5 separate regions of the Homo sapiens genome follow, and regions 2, 3, 4 and 5 are each linked to region 1. Evidence: promoter capture Hi-C in human tissues and cell types (Jung and others, 2019). All regions are on one chromosome and are shown on one strand. Each heading gives the region's core, a stretch centred on a gene start or on the middle of the fragment in contact. The rest is flanking DNA. Distances are from core to core; before and after follow the strand shown. Region 1 holds the start of ADRA1B (adrenoceptor alpha 1B). Region 2 has its middle 150 kb from the start of LINC01847. Region 3 has its middle 200 kb from the start of LINC01847. Region 4 overlaps LOC105377688 (a long non-coding RNA gene). Region 5 has its middle 170 kb from the start of LINC01847.

Region 1 (3,590 bases), core at 895-3,394:
GCCAGGGAAACAGAGTTTCCTAACCAGCTCTGCTCCTGACCATCTTGCCAAGTCTCTTTCCCTAGTGCACCACCTCCAACACAGGAAGATAAGCAAACCAAGGTTCTGAGAGCTTCTGAAGATCTAAATCACTATAAACTTGTGAATCTCTTATTATCAAATCTTCAAATACAGCTTAGGGCAATTTAATTATAATAGAAAATAATCCATTTTCAGGACTGTCTCTACCACAGATTTCTTAACCCGAGGGAAACCCCCTGAAATTGTGTATTTTGCACATGTGTGGAGTCTGTGCACTTTGCTGGGAGTAAATTAAAACCTTCGATACGTGTATGATAACCACCTGCCTCCCTTCTCAAAAAATAAAAATAAAAAGAGGTTAAGAGCTTACCTCTAGGTTGAGAAGCTTAGATGTAAGTCATCCTGAGTGACTTCTGTTTTCCCCACCCGTGAATATCAAGTTATAACAAGTATCAAGAGCAGAAGGTGAGAAACCCAAGATGCAGGCTTGTGAACTGGAGTAAAAGAAGGTATCAGGCTTTACTTTTCAATCTCCAGCTGCCACTGCCCATTGCTCTGCCATATATTTGCTAGCCTATGACCTCAGGAATCAACTGACTCTCTCTGAACCACTGTTTCTCATCTCTCAATGAACAATGGTTATGCTTCTCTCAAAGAATTGTAAAGTCTCAAAGAAACTGAGTAAATGCATGGCTATCAGTAAGCGCTCAATTCATGGGAGTCCCTGCCCAGCACCAGTGGCTCAGGCCCCAAAATTAACTACTCAAAAGGCAGCTCCATCTATAACAGTGGTTCCATCCCCTACCTTGCCCCGGGGGAAAAGTATGACACAGTAGCTGAGTACCCAACTTTGGGAGAGACCCCACAGTTGAGTTCAGTTCCCAGCAGCTCTCCTCCATGCCTTTGTGAACTTGGGCGAACAGCTAAACTTCCCCATAATTTGGTGTCTCATCCATGAAATAGAAATGGTGAAGAGTGTATTCTTTCTCTCATGAGAGTCATGAGAAAATGCAAAAAGAACTCAGCACACTGTCTAGGACAAAATAAATGTTGGATAAATGTGAACTAACATAAAGTTCTTTGGCTTTTTCTTTCTTTCTTTCTTGGCCCATACTTTCTCTTCTAAGTACCATTCACCCACCTTTGGGAGTGCGTCCCTGTGACTGAATGTCCAACATGGATATCAGACAGAAAGGAAAAAACTCAACAAATAACCAAGATCCTCTACGTCCCTTCCCCAGGTCTCTGACCTCCCTCACCCCCACTCCCAGATAGCCAGCTAGCTTCCTCCCTCAATTCCCTTCATGTTTCCTCAAATATCACTTCAGTGACATCCCAAGCACCCACTTAACATTTCAAATCCACCCCACAAACACCCCACTGCATTTCCCCCTCCTTACTTTATTTTCAGCCTAACACCTGTCATCACATTACACACCTCATCATTTGCTTATTTAGTATACTGTCTGTCTTCTGTCGGGAGAAGCTACGCTCCTATAGGGCAGGAGTCCGTCTATTTTGTTCAGTTGCTATGTTCACAGCGCCCAGAGCCAGGGCAGAGAGTGGAGACTCCGTAAGAATCGGCTGAATAAATGAGTGAATGCCTGAGCGAATGAAAGGATGAAGAGAAGCCAGATTTTACTGGGGCCAAAGAGTTTGCACGGGGCGAGGGGAGCCAGATGAAGGATGAGGGCTGGCCTCAGATCCGACTCAAGTCCCTCCCACCTGCCCAATCCTAGAATTCTCTTTCCCTCTTTTAGGTGCTGGACAAGTTGCATATCCCGTTAAATCCGGGGCCCACTCCGGGAGCCCCCTATTAAAGGTAAGCAGCCCCCAACCCACCTTTGACACGGAAGAGTGACTAGCGGGGAAAATAACCCCAGCGGGCCGCCTAGGGGTGGGTGACCCGCGATCTCCACGCCCAGGTCCCGCCCTCGCGGCCCCTGCCCCCGCCCCGCCCCCCGCAGAGGGCGCGCCCTGGGAGCGGCGGGGGACGCGGCTGGCTTCCCGGCTTGCGGGGTGGCGGCGTCGGGGCTGCGGGCGCCTTGGCTGGACCCGCATTGCCCCCTAGTGCCGCGCGGAGTCAGGGCGCCGGGCTCCCCCGCCTGATGTCACCGCCGTGCAGTCAGCCCAGAAGCGGCTCATTGAAAGCAGACCCTCTTCGGCGCTCGCTGGGCGGAGGACGCGCCGCGGTCCGCAGACCCGAGCGAGCTGGGCACCGCCGGGCGCCCCCGGCCCTGCCGCCCCCTCCTCCCCGCCGCTCCCCCGCGAGCCCGGCCAGGCGCGCCTGACGTGGACCATTAAACTTGGAGCTGCCGCCTCGTCCCCTCTCCTCCTCCTCCTCCCTCTGACAGGCGAGCGAGCGACTCGGTGCAGGCAGGAGACGTGCTGCCGGGCTGGGCTGCCCGGGGGAGATGACTCCTCGCCAGGAGGGCGCCTCTGGGAAGAAGACCACGGGGGAAGCAAAGTTTCAGGGCAGCTGAGGAGCCTTCGCCGCAGCCCTTCCGAGCCCAATCATCCCCCTGGCTATGGAGGGCGGACTCTAAGATGAATCCCGACCTGGACACCGGCCACAACACATCAGCACCTGCCCACTGGGGAGAGTTGAAAAATGCCAACTTCACTGGCCCCAACCAGACCTCGAGCAACTCCACACTGCCCCAGCTGGACATCACCAGGGCCATCTCTGTGGGCCTGGTGCTGGGCGCCTTCATCCTCTTTGCCATCGTGGGCAACATCCTAGTCATCTTGTCTGTGGCCTGCAACCGGCACCTGCGGACGCCCACCAACTACTTCATTGTCAACCTGGCCATGGCCGACCTGCTGTTGAGCTTCACCGTCCTGCCCTTCTCAGCGGCCCTAGAGGTGCTCGGCTACTGGGTGCTGGGGCGGATCTTCTGTGACATCTGGGCAGCCGTGGATGTCCTGTGCTGCACAGCGTCCATTCTGAGCCTGTGCGCCATCTCCATCGATCGCTACATCGGGGTGCGCTACTCTCTGCAGTATCCCACGCTGGTCACCCGGAGGAAGGCCATCTTGGCGCTGCTCAGTGTCTGGGTCTTGTCCACCGTCATCTCCATCGGGCCTCTCCTTGGGTGGAAGGAGCCGGCACCCAACGATGACAAGGAGTGCGGGGTCACCGAAGAACCCTTCTATGCCCTCTTCTCCTCTCTGGGCTCCTTCTACATCCCTCTGGCGGTCATTCTAGTCATGTACTGCCGTGTCTATATAGTGGCCAAGAGAACCACCAAGAACCTAGAGGCAGGAGTCATGAAGGAGATGTCCAACTCCAAGGAGCTGACCCTGAGGATCCATTCCAAGAACTTTCACGAGGACACCCTTAGCAGTACCAAGGCCAAGGGCCACAACCCCAGGAGTTCCATAGCTGTCAAACTTTTTAAGTTCTCCAGGGAAAAGAAAGCAGCTAAGACGTTGGGCATTGTGGTCGGTATGTTCATCTTGTGCTGGCTACCCTTCTTCATCGCTCTACCGCTTGGTAAGTTGGGGACTAGCAGCAGGGGGACTGGGCATTTTTGGACCTTGGGTTTACTGATGAGCTTACTCTAAAG
Region 2 (3,789 bases), core at 904-3,403, 190 kb before region 1:
CAAACAGGAACTATCTCGAGTTATTATATGTGAAAGTCTGTGCAGTTGGGTTGGTTTTTCTAACCAAAAAAAAAAAAAGGGGGAAAAAAGAGGAAGAAAAGAAAGAACAGAAAAGAAAAAATTTAAAAAGAAAACCTTTAAATCCACAAAATTTTTTTTTCTCATACCAAAAATGTAAGGGACCTGAACTACAACTTTAGAAATAGATATTTAATTTTTTAGAAAGTACCAATGTTTCATCAACACACACACACACACACACACACACACACACACACACATTTCTAACCAATGTTTCAACACACACACACACACACACATTTCTAACCAATGTTTCAACACACACACACACATTTCTAACCAATGTTTCAACACAAATACACACACACACATTTCTAACCAATGTTTCAACACACACACACACAAACACACACATTCACATTTCTAAAGGCTTGTTGAGTAAAAAAATGCCAGCTACCAAATCACTTAGGTAATTCTGTGAGCAGAAAAACAAAAAAAAAACAAAAAACAACAAAAAACAACATGGGTTTGAACCAAATGAAATATTGGCCCTGTTTAGGTTCAGCTGGCAGCATATTTAAATACAGAGATTTTGATCTGGTTCAATAGGTTTAGAAAATTAGCATGGTGAACTCTAGGTTTTAGTTCACATTGGAGGTTGAGTCCCAAGAGAGAAAATGATGGTCTTTTCTAATTTGCGTCTTTAAGCCAGTTTGTTTAAAGTTTCCCTTTACTTACTTTTTGTTCAGCAATATTAGGTTGGCATGGTGGTCTCACAAATAACAGCATATCTCCAGTGAAGCGGAGTTTCTTTGCTTAAAACTTGTGGGTATTTCTTGGGCATTTTCTCATGAGCAGAGTGTGATGGACAGGACCCATGTGGAGTCGCACAGGCCAGGGTTGACCAGAAGACCATTGGCAGTGCAGTCTCATTCTCTTTCAGATTCCCTCCAAGAACTGTTTTTCCTTCTTGCTTCAGCAAATGAATTTGGAGCTTCCCAGAACTCAGAAGGTTCAAGACGAGATGCTCAGTGCTCCAGAAAATGCAAGATGCTTTCCTTAACTCAGACAATGCAAATTCTCAATCTATTGGCTGATGCTGACCTTTCCATGTTTTAGGAATAAAGTGTCTGAAAACAAAATGAGAATATGTACAAAAAAGCAACAACAAAAAACTTCAGGGAGTATAAAATATCCAAGAGAACAAACTGTTTTAAGCACTATAGAACTCTTCAGAAACACCTATATATTCAGTGTACAATTACAAATAATTCATAGGTGGTTTCTGAAATATTTTAAGTTCCAGGATACATGTGCAGGATGTGCAGGTTTGTTACATAGGTAAACGTGTGCCATGGTGGTTTGCTGCACCTATCAACCCATCACCTAGGTGTTAAGCCTCACGTGCATTAGCTATTAGCTATTTATTTTTAAAGTTTAAAATTTTTTTTTAAATAGGTAAACCCTCTCCCACCACCACCACTCCCCAAATATACCCCGCACATCCAAAATGTATTTACAAAGCAGGAGGGGTGTCTATCCTGGTTTGATCATACACTCAGCCTAATATCCTAAAATTGCTGTAAGTACAGACCTTTAAATTCAGCCATGTAGGAACTTCAAGCTTTGCGTGGCTACAGTTCCTTGATTTTGCAGTTGAGTGAACTGAAATTCAGAGAAGTCAGGTGAAGCGACTTACCTAAGGTCACATGGTTCATGATTTATGAGGGCAGGATCAAAGCTTAAATCTCCTGTTCTTGAGTCAGAGCATAAAAGGAATCAAAGCTCATAACAGTGTTCCTGAAGCCTCACAACAATGCAAATCATACCAGGACAACTGACCTTTAGCCATCCTCCAGTCCTTACTAGGCCAGAAAGAGAACCTGGATGTTCTGGAAAGATGTTGAGTAATCCCAGGATTGGAACAAAAGCATTTTCTGCTTGACCCTTAATACTTTTAATACTCTGAAATACTCTTAATGTTCTGAAACAACTCAATTTCTCCAAGTATTTATAGCTGTTTTGCATTGTGTGGGGAACCCTTACATTCTAGGTACCCCACTTTTCCATATCAATCAGAAGGGTCTTTGTTAACACACGCTTAAGCTAGGGTTTTTCTAAGCTTTCCTATGAGAGTCCCGCGCAACTGAAACTTGCTTTTCATTACAGTTTGGGGGTCTTGACATTTAGGACACCACTGTCTATCATGGGATGATTAATTAATATTTTGCCATCTCTCTGATTCCATGAGCAGAACATCATTGTTCAGCTTCCAGTCTTTCTTTATGCCAACAACAGCAAACCCTGACTCTAGGTTGACAAAGAAGAGAAAATTTGTAAACATCCTGGGATTAATTACTACTGGGATCTGTCTGCCCATCCACGCTAATAAAGTATGAGACTTCCCCCTATTTATCATCTTTATTTCCTCAGAGACATCAGAAAACAGCCCTCCCTAACAAAATGGAATGAATCTGATTAATGCAGGAGCTCAGCAGCCCGAATCCTTCATCACACCATCAGAAACAAAAAAGGAGGGGGGCATCCAATACAAAGTGCCTGCATAACCTTTTGTCTCTCATAGCCCCCTGTCACCAGCCAGATTAGCATCGGAGGCAGGGAGCGTAAAGGCCTGACATTCGGCTCTGTGTTTTAGCTGAAACTAATTTCCTTTCCAGCATTCGAGGCCCTGGCCACTGGACCTTCCTGGCAGGTCTGGTTCTTTTGCCAAGGAACGAATGTCAAGGGCTTTCTTGTCTTAGAAAGGAACGCACTGTTTCACTGGCCTGCAGCAGGTTGCAGGGGACCCAAACACCAGGTCAGAGCCCCGTATGTGCTGGCTGTCCCCTTGAGCAGGTCTTTGCATTCTTTTGAAAGAGAAGGGGACAGCAGGGTTAAGGGAACAGATTCTTGAGAAAGAAGGAGAAAGACAGGAGTCAGCAAAAATAAGCCATAAACTCTGGTAAACATTAGGTCCCTAAGGACCTAAAACGGCCTTTAAGCCCCTGCATGGTTGATCTGTGTCCTTTTCCAGCTTCCCCTCCTTTCACATATCCTAACATCCTGTGCCCCAAACACACTGACCTTATTTCAGAGCCAAGCTCCATCCTTCCACAAGACTTTTGCACAGGGCTGTCCTCACCTCTTCAACGTCACCCATCCCACTACCACCCCTCTCCCCTTTATCTAGCTAACTCCACCAAACTCTTAGGTCTTAGTTCAAAGATCACTTCCTCAGGTTGTCTTCCCTGAACTTTTAGGCTAGGTCAGGCCCACCTGGGTAACAATTCAGAACACCTGCTTCCATTGGGATTTTACATTTATTAGCGGGGTCGTTTGAATCATGTCTGTTCCTTTTACAAGACTGTAGTCTCCATGAAGCTAACTCTTACATCTTGTTTCCATGGTATCTGCAGAACCCAGGCCTCTTCATGGTATGGAGGAGACACGACTATGCAGGAATCATGAACAGCATTTTTACCAAGAAGAAAACTAAGTCCACTTGGCTTCTAATACAATGTTTTTATAATGCTTATAACCAGGTAGTCCAGAGGACCCAGATTTTAATCTTGACTCTCCATTTCATTGCTGTGTAAATTTGGCCAAGTTACATAACTTCTCTTAGCCTAATTTTCCTCTTTTACAAAATAAGATTAATAACATACCCTCATTGGCCAGGTGTGATGGCTCACGCCTGTAATCCCAGCACCTTGGGAGGCCAAGACAGGCAGATCATTTGAGGCCAGGAGTTCAAGACCAGCCTGGCCA
Region 3 (3,765 bases), core at 1,082-3,581, 240 kb before region 1:
CCAAGGCCTTGGGAGGCCACCCCTTATACCAGTTTGCTCAGAATGCAGGATATGACGTCAAGGATTGTTTTGGAGCTTTAAGATTTAATGTCTGTCCTGTTTAGTTTCGGTCTTGCATGGGACCTGTTGCCCTTTTCATTTGGCTAATGTCTTCCTTTTGAAATGGGAATGTTTATCCAATGCCTGTACCACTATGGTATCTCGGAAGTAAATAACTTGTTTTTTTGTTTTTTAATCATACAGGCTTATAGGTAGAAGGAGCCTGTCTTGGGACTTTTATGAGATTTTGGACTTTGGATTTTTTATTTAGTTGATGCTAGAAAGAGTTAAGACTTTGGGGGACTACTAAGAAGGGATGATTGTATTTTGCAATGTGAGAAGGACATGAGATTTAGGGGGCAAAAGGTGAAATAATATGGTTTGGATGTTTGTCTTCTCCAAATCTCTTGTTGAAAGGTAATCCCCAGTATTGGAGCTGGGGCCTGGGGAGAAGCGTTTGTGTTATGGAGGCAGATCTCTCATGAATGTCTTAGTGCCTGTCTTGTGGTAATGAGTGAGTTCTTGCTCTGAGTTCATGCAAGATCTGGTTGTTTAAGAGTGTGGTACTTCCTCTCTCTCTCTCTCTATTCCTCTCTCTCTATTGCTCACTCTCACCTCACCATGTGACACACCTGCTTCTGCTTCACCTTCCACCATGAGTCAAAGCTCCTTGGGGCCTCACCAGAAGCCAAGCAGATGTCAACATTATGCTTCCTGAACAGCCTACAGAACCATGACACAGTTAAACCTCTTTTCTTTATAAATCAGCCTCAGATATTCCTTTATAGAAATGCAAGAACCGACTAACACACCATAGCAGACAACCTGAAATATTCTATATCAGTCAGTTGAGGTTAGGTAATGTTGCAGTAACAAACGTTTCCAAATCTCAAAGCCTTAGCAAAACAAGTGTTTATTTCTCCCTTGCTCTAAATATTCAAAAATGGGTTGACAGGAAGATGCTGCTCAACGAGCTTGTTCAGGGATAAGGCTGATAGGGACTCCATTGTCTTTTCCCTTGCCATGATCAACTTGGCAAGGGAAAGGAAACAAGATCCAGAAGTAACAAATGTCTCTTCTCATCACTTCTGCTCCCATCGTTGACAAAAGCCAATAACACGGTTTCACCTAGCTTCAAAGGAGGTGGTGAAGTATAATTCTGCCTGTACCTGAGAGGAGAACTAGAAATGTTTGGTGCACAGCAATAATGGCTACTGTGTAGTCCTGAGATACTTCTTCATCTCTTAGATCCTTTTATCTCTGTTCTTTCCAAGTTGGGTTGGAGAACAAAGGGAAGTAAGAGAAGAGGTGAAGGGCATTCTTTTGTTCTTCATTTCTTGTTTGCAGTACCCAGTCTCCCAGGCTTCTATGCTCTTCTAGATTATTCTCTATAAAAATACAGAAGTTGGGGAGGCTAGGTACTGCAAATACCTTCCCTCCAAATTCCTCACTTTAAAAAATTATGATGAGTAATTCTACTGTGGCACACAGTGTCATTGGTCACAAGTTTTCATACCAAAGCTATCACTGGCCTCAGCTAATAAACTTTCTGCTATCAGATTCCACCTTCCTCAGAAAGGTGTGTCGGTGTTTATTTTCTCTCTCTCTCTCTCTGTCTCTCTCTCTGTGTGTGTGTGTGTGTGTGTGTGTGTGTGTGTGTGTGTGTGAAGCAATAAAATAAAACTATTTTTCAAATATCCAGATAGTTATTGATAAAGTAGGAATTTCTCTGAATTTTATCTTGGAAAAGCTTTAAGTAGAGAAAAGAGTTCAGTTTCAAAGTCAAGAACATGAGATTTAATATTGAATTCAAATTTGGCTCCTTCACTCATCAATTGTGTGACCTTAAGACAAATTTTTAATCCTTGTAAGCTTCAATTTCTAATCTGTAATATGAGGGAATAATATTAACTTCTATCTCAACATAGAACATAGAGTTGTAATGAGGGTTTAATGAGCACAGTGCCAAGCATATAGTAAGCATTCAATAAATTCTGGCTCCTATAATAATAGTCTTTTCCTCTTCCAACGAAAAACTCCTTTTTAACCTTTGTGACCAGCACAGAAAACAATGAGATCATCACCATCTTGAATGTGGCCTTTTTTACTTTTATTAAATCACAAATATTCACTAGGGAATATTCATTCCCTAGAAATTCATTATTTGGTTAAAAGGGTCAGAAAACCAAACACAAAATGTCTTAAGCAAAAAGATAAAATTTACCTGATGTATATAAATGAAAGGCTTTAGGCACAGCTAGATCTAGTTGCTCAAATAACATCACCAGATTCAATATCTGTTGTCTTTATTTTCCCTTCTTTGGTTTTATTATCAAGCTTTCTTTCCTCTCATAGTGCTAAAAGGATTGCCAAGCAGCTCCGCAGTTTTATCTTATTCTCTCAATAACCATGCTGAATAGTCATAGTGAGATTTCCTTTTTTAAAACATAGCAAAAATCTCAGAATTTCATTTCATTGATTCTGCTGGGACCACCTGATCACCCTTGAAACAATCATGGTGGCCATGGGAATGTGGTGCACTGGTAGGGCAAACCTGGTCCTCTCCTGTACACCAAATTGGTAGTAGAGTCAGCAACGCTGGAATTATTTGTGTGGGGAGTGGTGAAGGCTTATATATCCAAACAAAAACAGGTTTCACTTACCAGAAAAAGAGTATAGGGATGGACACTGAGCAAGAAAAAACCGGGTGACTACTACACGTTTTATGAATATACACACTTTTGGAAACAGCAGGGTCCCACCATTGACTTAGAGCAAAAAATGCAGTATCTCCACTGGCACCCTCCCATTCCTTGCCCATAGCTAACACTGCTAATCATTCATAGCCCTCTTGTCCATGGAGTTCAGAAAATACTTCAGAATCCTCCTTCTTCATGTTTTCTTGTTTATTTTTTTATTTTACATTTGTCTTTAGGCTTCTAATCCACAAGCACAAGCTAGTTTATTTTGTAAGTTCAGCACATGCTGTTTATACTTCTTACACTTTATCTAGTCTCATTTGGTCTGTTGTCCTGGTCTGTTGAGATCTTAGGTGAGCACTCATAGTACCCGGTTTTAACTTCATATTGCTGACAGAGCCAGTGAAGAGACTGAAAAACAGTCCTGAATCTCTAATGCCACCCCGAGCAGCTGTGGTGGCATGGCATGGAGAGCATATCTGGTTGCTGGTGGAGAAAGAACACAACAATTGTGAGGCATTGAAATCACCGCCGTCCTGTTGGAGCACGAAGGAAAACTGGACCAAACTCAGCTGACACTTGTCCATGGAGGGAGCATTTAAAACCAGCCTTACCCAAAGGGGAATCTCCAATCCTAGTGGTCCAAACTTGAGTTCCCACAAACCTTGCCACCAAGGACTACAGTGCTCTGTGTCTCCAAGTAAACTTGAAAGGCAGTCTAGGCCATAAGGACTGCAACTCTTAGGTGAGTCCTAGTGCTGAACTAGGCCCAGAGACAGTTGACTGGGTGTTGGGGGCAGGGCGTGTGACATACTGAGACACTAGCTAGGGCAGCCAAGGGAGTGCTGGCATCACCCCTTCCCTAACCCCAGGCTGCACAGCTCTTGGCTCCAAAAAAGACCCCTTCCTTCTGCTTGAGAACAAGAGAGGAAAGAGTGGGAAGGACATTGTCTTGCATCTTGCATACCAGCTCAACCACAGCAGGATAGGGCACTGGTCGGGGTCATGAGGCCCCCATCGAAGCCCT
Region 4 (3,612 bases), core at 768-3,267, 160 kb before region 1:
CATCCCCCTCTCTGCCACAGTGAGCTCCCTGACTCATGAATTTGTAACAATATCCCTCTTTTCTGAATGATTAGAAAACCTAAAACACTTGATTGTCTATTTATTTAGCACATACAGACGGTCCCCAGTGAATGATGATTCAACTTACAATTTTTCGACTTTACGATGGTGTAAAAGCACTACACATGCAGTACAAACCGTACTTTGAATTTTGAATTTTGATCTTTTCCCAGGCTAGCAATATGCAGGATGATACTCTCTCATGATGCTGGGCATCAGTGAGCCATAGCTCCCAGTCAGATGTACCATTAGAAGGGTAAACAACTGATAAGCTTCAGTGTGCTATATCCGATAAATTACCTAAGATAGTCAACACTTTATTATGAAATATGAAATAGGCTTTGTGTTAGATGATATTGCCCAATTCTAGGCTCATGTAAGTGTTCTGTGTATGTTTAAGGTTGTCAAGGCTAAGCTGTGATATTCATTGGATAGGTTAGGTATATTAAACATATTTTTTTAAAAAAAATTTATTTCGATAAGTTTTGGGGGAACAGGTGGCTTTTGGTTACAAGAGTAAGTTCTTCAGTGGTGACTTGTAGGATTTTGGTGCACCTATCACCCGAGCAGTATACACTGAACCCAATTTGTAGTCTTTTATCCCTCACCCCCCCACACACTTTCCCCTGAGTCCCCAAAGTTCGTTGTATCATTCTTATGCCTTTGCATCCTCATAACTTAGCTCCCATTTATGAATGACAACATGTGAGGTTTGGTTTTTCATTCTTGAGTTACTTTACTTAGAATAATAGTCTCCAATTCCATTTAGGTTGCTGTGAATGCCATTAATTCGTTCCTTTTTATGGCTGAGTAGTATTCCATCATATATATATAGCACAGTTTCTTTATCCACTCGTTGATTGATGGGCATTAGGGCTGGTTCCATATTTTTGCAATTGTGAATTGTGCTAGTATAAATATGCATGTGCACGTATCTTTTTTGTATAGTGACTTCTTTTCCTCTGGGTAGATACCCAGTAGTGGGATTGCTGGATCAAATGGTAGTTCTACTTTTAGTTATTTAAGGAATCTCCACACTGTTTTCCATAACGGTTGTACTAGTTTACATTCCCACCAACAGTGTAGAAGTGTTCTCTTTAAATGTATTTTTGACTAACACTATTTTCAACTGACAATGGGTTTATCAGGCCGTAACACCACTGTAAGTCGAGGAGCATCTGTACTTACTGGGTGTATACATGTGCCAGGCTATACCCTCATAGAGCTTACAGTCTACCATAGATGAAAAACCACAAATAAATATGATACATTCAGGTGGTGACAGTAATTATTTTAAACACAGGATAATGGAATGTAATAAACAGGAGGATGAGGAGGGTTACTTCAGATAGGGTGATCAGGGAAAAGAACTCTGGAAAAGTGACATGTGCATTGAAAGGACTCCACCTTTCCTCTGAGGGAAGAGTGGCCCAGGTGAAGTATATGATAAGTGCAAAGGCCGTGGGGCAGAAACTAGCCTGATGTGAGCAGAAAGAAGGCCTGTGTGGCTAGAGCAGAGAGGTAAGGGGACACTGGTGCTAGATAGGGTTGAAGGGGAAGGGTGGGCCTATCAAGTACACCAGAGGAATTAGTTTGGATTTTGCACTAAATTCAATGGAAGTATTGGAGGGTTTTAGGCATAGGAGGGATATCTAATTAATATTTATTAAAAATCTCTTTGACTGCTGTGTGGAGACTAGAATAACTAGAGGGATGCAGGAGGGTGATGGCTATTCTAGTAGAAATAATAGAGATTTGTACAAAGATAGAAGAAAGATTGTCATGATTTTTTTTACCAGCCTTTCCCTACATGTAATAATCTCCTTTCTATGTATATTAAGTTCATTTACTTTTAAACTTGGACTGTGTCTTGTATTTTGTTCTATTACTTACAAACCCAAGCCAGACTAGAACCAAGGCAGGTACTTAGATACGTGACCAATTAACTCTGTTTAATTAATTAATTTTTTTTTTCTTTTTGAGACTGAGTCTCAGTCTATCATCCAAGCTGGAGTGCAGTGGCGTGATCTTGCCTCACTGCAACCTCTGCCTCCCAGGTTCAAGTGATCCTTGTGCCTCAGCCTCCCGAGTAGCTGGGATTATAGGTGCCTGCCACCTCGCCTGGCTAAGTTTCGTATTTTTAGTAGAGATGGGGTTTCACCATGCTGGCCAGGCCTGTCTCAAACTCCTGACCTCAAGTGATCTGCCTTCCTGGACTTCCCAAAGTGCTGGGATTACAGGCGTGAGCCAATGTGCCCGGCTAACTCTGTTTAATTTTAAATTTCTATGTATTTAGATTAGGCATCTGGTAAACCACCCCTCCCCCAAACTGTAAGTTAAATTTGGAATGCACCTTTGAAGTCTTTGGGTCTAAGTCTACATTTCAATTTGCCACCTACTAAATCTTTGCATACCAACCTTCTTCTAGACTGATTCACAACAGAAATGCCCATGCCATTGGCACCAGTGTGAAGCAGTGTCTGCCTACTTGCAGATGTATGATTACCTGATAAAATAAACCCTGTCTTGTATAAGACATTCTCCTCTGGTCTCTGTACCTTGCAGCCACTCACAATCCTAACTGATATAATTGATCACTTGAACATTGTTCAGACATGCCTATACCTTCTTCCACTCTGTGAAACAGTCAATGACATATGGTGGTAGGTTCTGGGGCTCTGCCAGACACCCTTCCAAGGATTTCACACATTTACAAGGCAGCAGGTGACACCTGGGAAGTCTCCGGGCATTTTCAATGCCTCCTCTTCAACAATTTCCTCACTCACTGTCAGATCTCACATCTCACCAGCAAAGCTTATTATTCCAGGTGGCTAAACTCCTCCAGGTGAAGTGAGAATATCCTGACCTTTCTCTGTGAAGCGTCACTCTTTTTGTAAGCTCAAACAGTGTTGCTAATGGATGATGAGATGATCTACCGTGCACTTTGGTTCCTATAGGTTTCTTAGGTTTATTTGAACAAGTCTTTTCTCTGCCCCTGGTAGTTGGCTGGGTCGAGGAAAGGCAAGCCAAATAAAACCTCTGACAAACTTAAAGTTTCCTCTTTAGCTAGAGGGTACTTTTAGGGTAAGGGACTATTTGATTCTTTAGTATAAGATTTTTAGAAACAGAGGACTTTAGAGTCAGAAGAGCTCTTACACATCATCCAGTCATTTGGCAGAAGAAAAATGGGGAGCAGAAAGTTTAATTCCCTCTGACATTGGAACTATGCACTATTCTGAGTACCAAGGCAAGGCAATCTCATGTGCATAAAATATTATTTTACACTAGGCACTATAGTAGGTTTTATACACAAATTAATTTTATTTCTTCCTCCCAACAATTTTAGAAAACAAATGCTGATATCACTGTATTGCACAAGGGATAACTGAAGCCCAGAGTTTCAAAATCTTTAGACAATGTGGTAGCTTGCATTGTTATTTTCCATTTTCACCTCCTTCTCCCCATATTGGTATTTATCACTACCACATAGATGTTGGTCTTGGCAATTTGACTTGCTTTGACCAATGGAACATGAGCAAACACAGCATAGGT
Region 5 (3,499 bases), core at 324-2,823, 220 kb before region 1:
ATATATATATATATATACACCCACACCATGGAATACTACTCAGCCATAAAAAGGAAAAAAATAATGGCATTCGCAGCAACCTGGATGAAATTGGAGACAGTTATTCTAAGTGAAGTAACTCAGGAATGGAAAACCAAACATCATATGTTCTCTTTCATAAGTGGGATGCAAAGGCATAGGCATGATACAATGGATTTGGGGGACTTGGGGGAAAAGGTGGGAGGGGGTGAGGGATAAAAGATTATACACTGGGTACAGTGTACACTGCTCAGGTGATGGGTGGACCAAAATCTCAGAAATCACCACTGAAGAATGTATTCATATAACCAAACACCATCTGTTCTCCAAAAACCTATTGAAATATTTTAAAGGAGAAAAAAACCTCTCATGTACCCCATAAATATATATACCTGCTTTGTACCCACAAAATTAAAAATTAAAAAAAGATATTCAAGCTTGACTCTGGCATCTAAGTTTCATTTATTCTCCAAGTTTCATGCCTCTCATAAAGGCATCCCATGTCTGTTTGATTAATGTTGAGTGGAGGGGCTAATAATAACAGTTCTTGGTGTGTCTCAAAACATCACTCTTCAGCTGCTTCCAGTTAGATTATAAACAACAGAACTGGTTGGCATTTTAGAATGAGAAAAAGTTCAAGGTAAATGTAAACTCACACACACATACATTAAAGTGATACTATATCTTCTCTTTTTTTTTCTATTTTTGATAGACTTGGTAAAACTGCTCCTACCCAAATTTAACAAATTTCAATCAAGACATAAGCAATTCTCTAACAAAGAAGGGAAAGAACTTTGACCTATCTTAACTAAATCCATCATAGCTCCAAAATAGAATATTTTTCTTTGCCCAACATGGCAAGTTTCAGGGAGCACCAGGGCCCCGGAAAACAATCTACTTGGGTGAAGCAGAAACAGTTTGTTTCATGTCAACAGTTTGCTTAGCTTGCTGTAGGAAGAATTCAGAGGCATACATGGATTGGGAGAAATGTGTCCCGCCTCCCATGGGAATGCAGATATGCAGAGCGGAGAATGTAACTCCACATATTAAAACAAGCTCCTCCTGGTATTTGGGAATCTGCCTCTTGCTGCTTAATACAGACTCTGTTCTCACACCCCAGGCTGGGACCTTCATCTGGGATGCCAAGGGACAGGACCTTTGTGGGACATTTGAGTCCTATTGTAGGAGGTTAGTCGAGAAAGTTCATTTTTCTGGTTTTGCAAGAACACATGGGACTAAAGGCTAGGCTGGTTGTTTGGACAGACCCCATCAGTTTTGTTCTTTGGCCCCCAGCTGCCTGAAGAGGCTTTTGAAAGCATCATCTCTGGGACTCAGCAAACGAGAAGCACAAGTGATGTCTTGCTTCCTGTTAGTTGGCCTGAAACCACCCTGCTGTCTTCCAGTTGACCCTGCTTGTCTCTCCAGCCAAGATTGTTCCTTACTTTTCCAACAACATCATGTGTCTTCTATCCCTCTTTTTCAGTCCTACAAGTGAGACAATACTTTTCCTGTGGTATGTGGAGGTCTCCAACATTGGAGCAACTGTATTAAGCACTTTGTTTACATCTACTATTGACTCATAAATACTCACAATAGTCCTAAAAGATAAGTGTTATTGTAACTTTCTTTTGCAAATGAGGACAGTGAGGTCAGATAAACCAGAGATCCATATTACAGGGGCAGAAGCGAGAATCCAACCCAGCTCTGGCTGACTCTCCAGACAGACTCTTACCAGCATGCTAACTGACCCTTTACCTCCTAGTGGGCAATTCCACAGACATTGACTGTGCTATATTGTGCTGGCCTTCTGGGGACATAATGAGAGATGGGACACTGTCCCTTAAGAAGCTTTCGGGCATTACTTGAAACACTGATTTGGAGCAAGGGGCTTGTATCCAGCTGAAAATTTCTTCCTGATCAAAAAAAAAAATGCTTCCACTCCTGAGTAGGATCCAGAGCCAGCCTTAAATGTGCTATGAATGCTTCTTGCCAAGCACCTGCAGATGCCTCCCCAAAGGCATGGCATGCCTTTGTTAGAGATGTGGGCCTTTGGGCAAAGGCACCTGTGACAGCACTCAGCACAGAGTCTTGGGAGTCTCCTGTGGCCTAAGCCAACTTTACCCTAGTCCCCAGAGAAGCAAACGCTGAGTCTACACAGACACACGGATGGAGGGTTTGCAACCAGCCTTGAAAAGGCATCTATTGAGTCCTGAGTATGATTTGGGGAACAATGTAGGGAGGGCAGAAAGGTCCCCAGTAAAAACATTGCCTCTGGGGAGGGTGGAATGAGAGTGACTGCTTCATAGGTATATTCTCCCTTGGGGGTGATGGAAATGTTGAGAATTAGAGCTGATGGTTGCACAACATTGCGAATGTATTAAACCGCCACCAAAATGCACACTTTAAGAGGGTTAATTTTATATGATATTAGTTTTACCTTGATTTTTAAAAAAAGTTAAAGAAAGTCACCTCTGCCGAGTGCCATAGTTCCTGAAGTGCTACTGTTCAGAATAGGACTATTCTCTCCCTCCACTTCCCTCCTGCCCCTGTTTTCACCTGGACCTTCTGTCTTGTCTGAAGCTGTGGGAGGGTCACTTTCAGGCCCCTTTTTGTCTCTTATGTGCTCTTCCCTCTAGGAAGAGGTACACCTTCTGAGGTTGGTGAGGCTCAGAAAAGAAAGAGGACCTTTTCATGTCTTTGATCTAAGGGTGTCCATGGACCTAGTTCTCAGCTCTGGATTGATATTGTTACCAAGTATAATAAATATGTGAAGAGACTGAGGCCTTCCCAACACTGCCTAGAGCCACCTCCTCCCTCACCAGCTGCTCCCTGAGTCACTGATCACCAGATCCAAGGGTACCTCTCTCTAAACATGTTCATGATCTTGCTTGCAGGAGTAAGTTGGCCTTTGTTTCTCTATGTAGGGCTTTTCTTTAGGAAACATCCTACCTACTTTCTTGTCCACCTTGAAATTCTTTGTGTTCAACAGCCACCACCAGAAAAATGACATGAAACTATTTTTGTAGCAAAAATGTACTTATTGATTTCCTTTACATCAGTTTGCATTTTAAATTCAAGTCAAAGGACACCTCTCACTGTCAATCACCAGCTGCTTGGCCCCATTTGTCCTTCTAAGCTGGAGGAAATGTGAATAAACATTAGAAGGACAAGTAAGATTGTTTTTGCAAAATCTGCCATGTTCAGGAATCTGGAACTTCAAAAGAAAACAAAAAGACCTTTTCATCTCCTTTCTTAGTTTTAATTGTTTCTTCTTTGGAAGCTAATTTCTAACTGTAATCACAGGAGAAAGGAGGTTTGGGCAATTATGCTGCAAATCTGATCTGCGGAGGCAGCCCACTGGGATGCTATTTTCCTCAGGAGCTGGAATTTTGGCCAAAATCATCTGGGAAACTTTTCTCTTCTTCTAATTTATTCTGCCTATGGAGACCTTGTTAATAATGCCAAAAATGCTTCACATTTG

What was found. The method cuts DNA at HindIII sites, captures the fragments that hold promoters and counts their contacts. A contact is called where the count stands out against the background at its distance.
Region 2: a fragment that was not itself captured here is called in contact with the fragment with the promoter of ADRA1B in region 1 in 1 of the 25 tissues and cell types used here (thymus).
Region 3: a fragment that was not itself captured here is called in contact with the fragment with the promoter of ADRA1B in region 1 in 2 of the 25 tissues and cell types used here (IMR-90 fibroblasts and mesendoderm cells).
Region 4: a fragment that was not itself captured here is called in contact with the fragment with the promoter of ADRA1B in region 1 in 1 of the 25 tissues and cell types used here (IMR-90 fibroblasts).
Region 5: a contact is called between a fragment that was not itself captured here and the fragment with the promoter of ADRA1B in region 1, in 1 of the 25 tissues and cell types used here (IMR-90 fibroblasts).

Annotation. Positions count from the first base shown.
Region 1 is chr5:159,914,338-159,917,927 of GRCh38, forward strand. It overlaps ADRA1B (adrenoceptor alpha 1B), which reads left to right and starts at 2,145. Exons shown (of 2, transcript NM_000679.4): 1 at 2,145-3,517. The coding sequence starts at 2,569. RefSeq lists a silencer at 1,979-2,038 and enhancers at 2,102-2,718, 2,719-3,335. The HindIII fragment of the contact is 5,190 bases long and covers 1-3,590 here.
Region 2 is chr5:159,722,722-159,726,510 of GRCh38, forward strand. No RefSeq gene overlaps it. Among named protein-coding and RNA genes, the nearest start is that of LINC01847, 150 kb to the right of the region's middle. The HindIII fragment of the contact is 3,105 bases long and covers 602-3,706 here.
Region 3 is chr5:159,673,075-159,676,839 of GRCh38, forward strand. No RefSeq gene overlaps it. Among named protein-coding and RNA genes, the nearest start is that of LINC01847, 200 kb to the right of the region's middle. The HindIII fragment of the contact is 4,205 bases long and covers 230-3,765 here.
Region 4 is chr5:159,752,982-159,756,593 of GRCh38, forward strand. All of the region lies in intron 1 of LOC105377688 (a long non-coding RNA gene), which reads right to left. Among named protein-coding and RNA genes, the nearest start is that of LINC01847, 120 kb to the right of the region's middle. The HindIII fragment of the contact is 5,614 bases long and covers 1-3,612 here.
Region 5 is chr5:159,694,896-159,698,394 of GRCh38, forward strand. No RefSeq gene overlaps it. Among named protein-coding and RNA genes, the nearest start is that of LINC01847, 170 kb to the right of the region's middle. The HindIII fragment of the contact is 5,495 bases long and covers 1-3,499 here.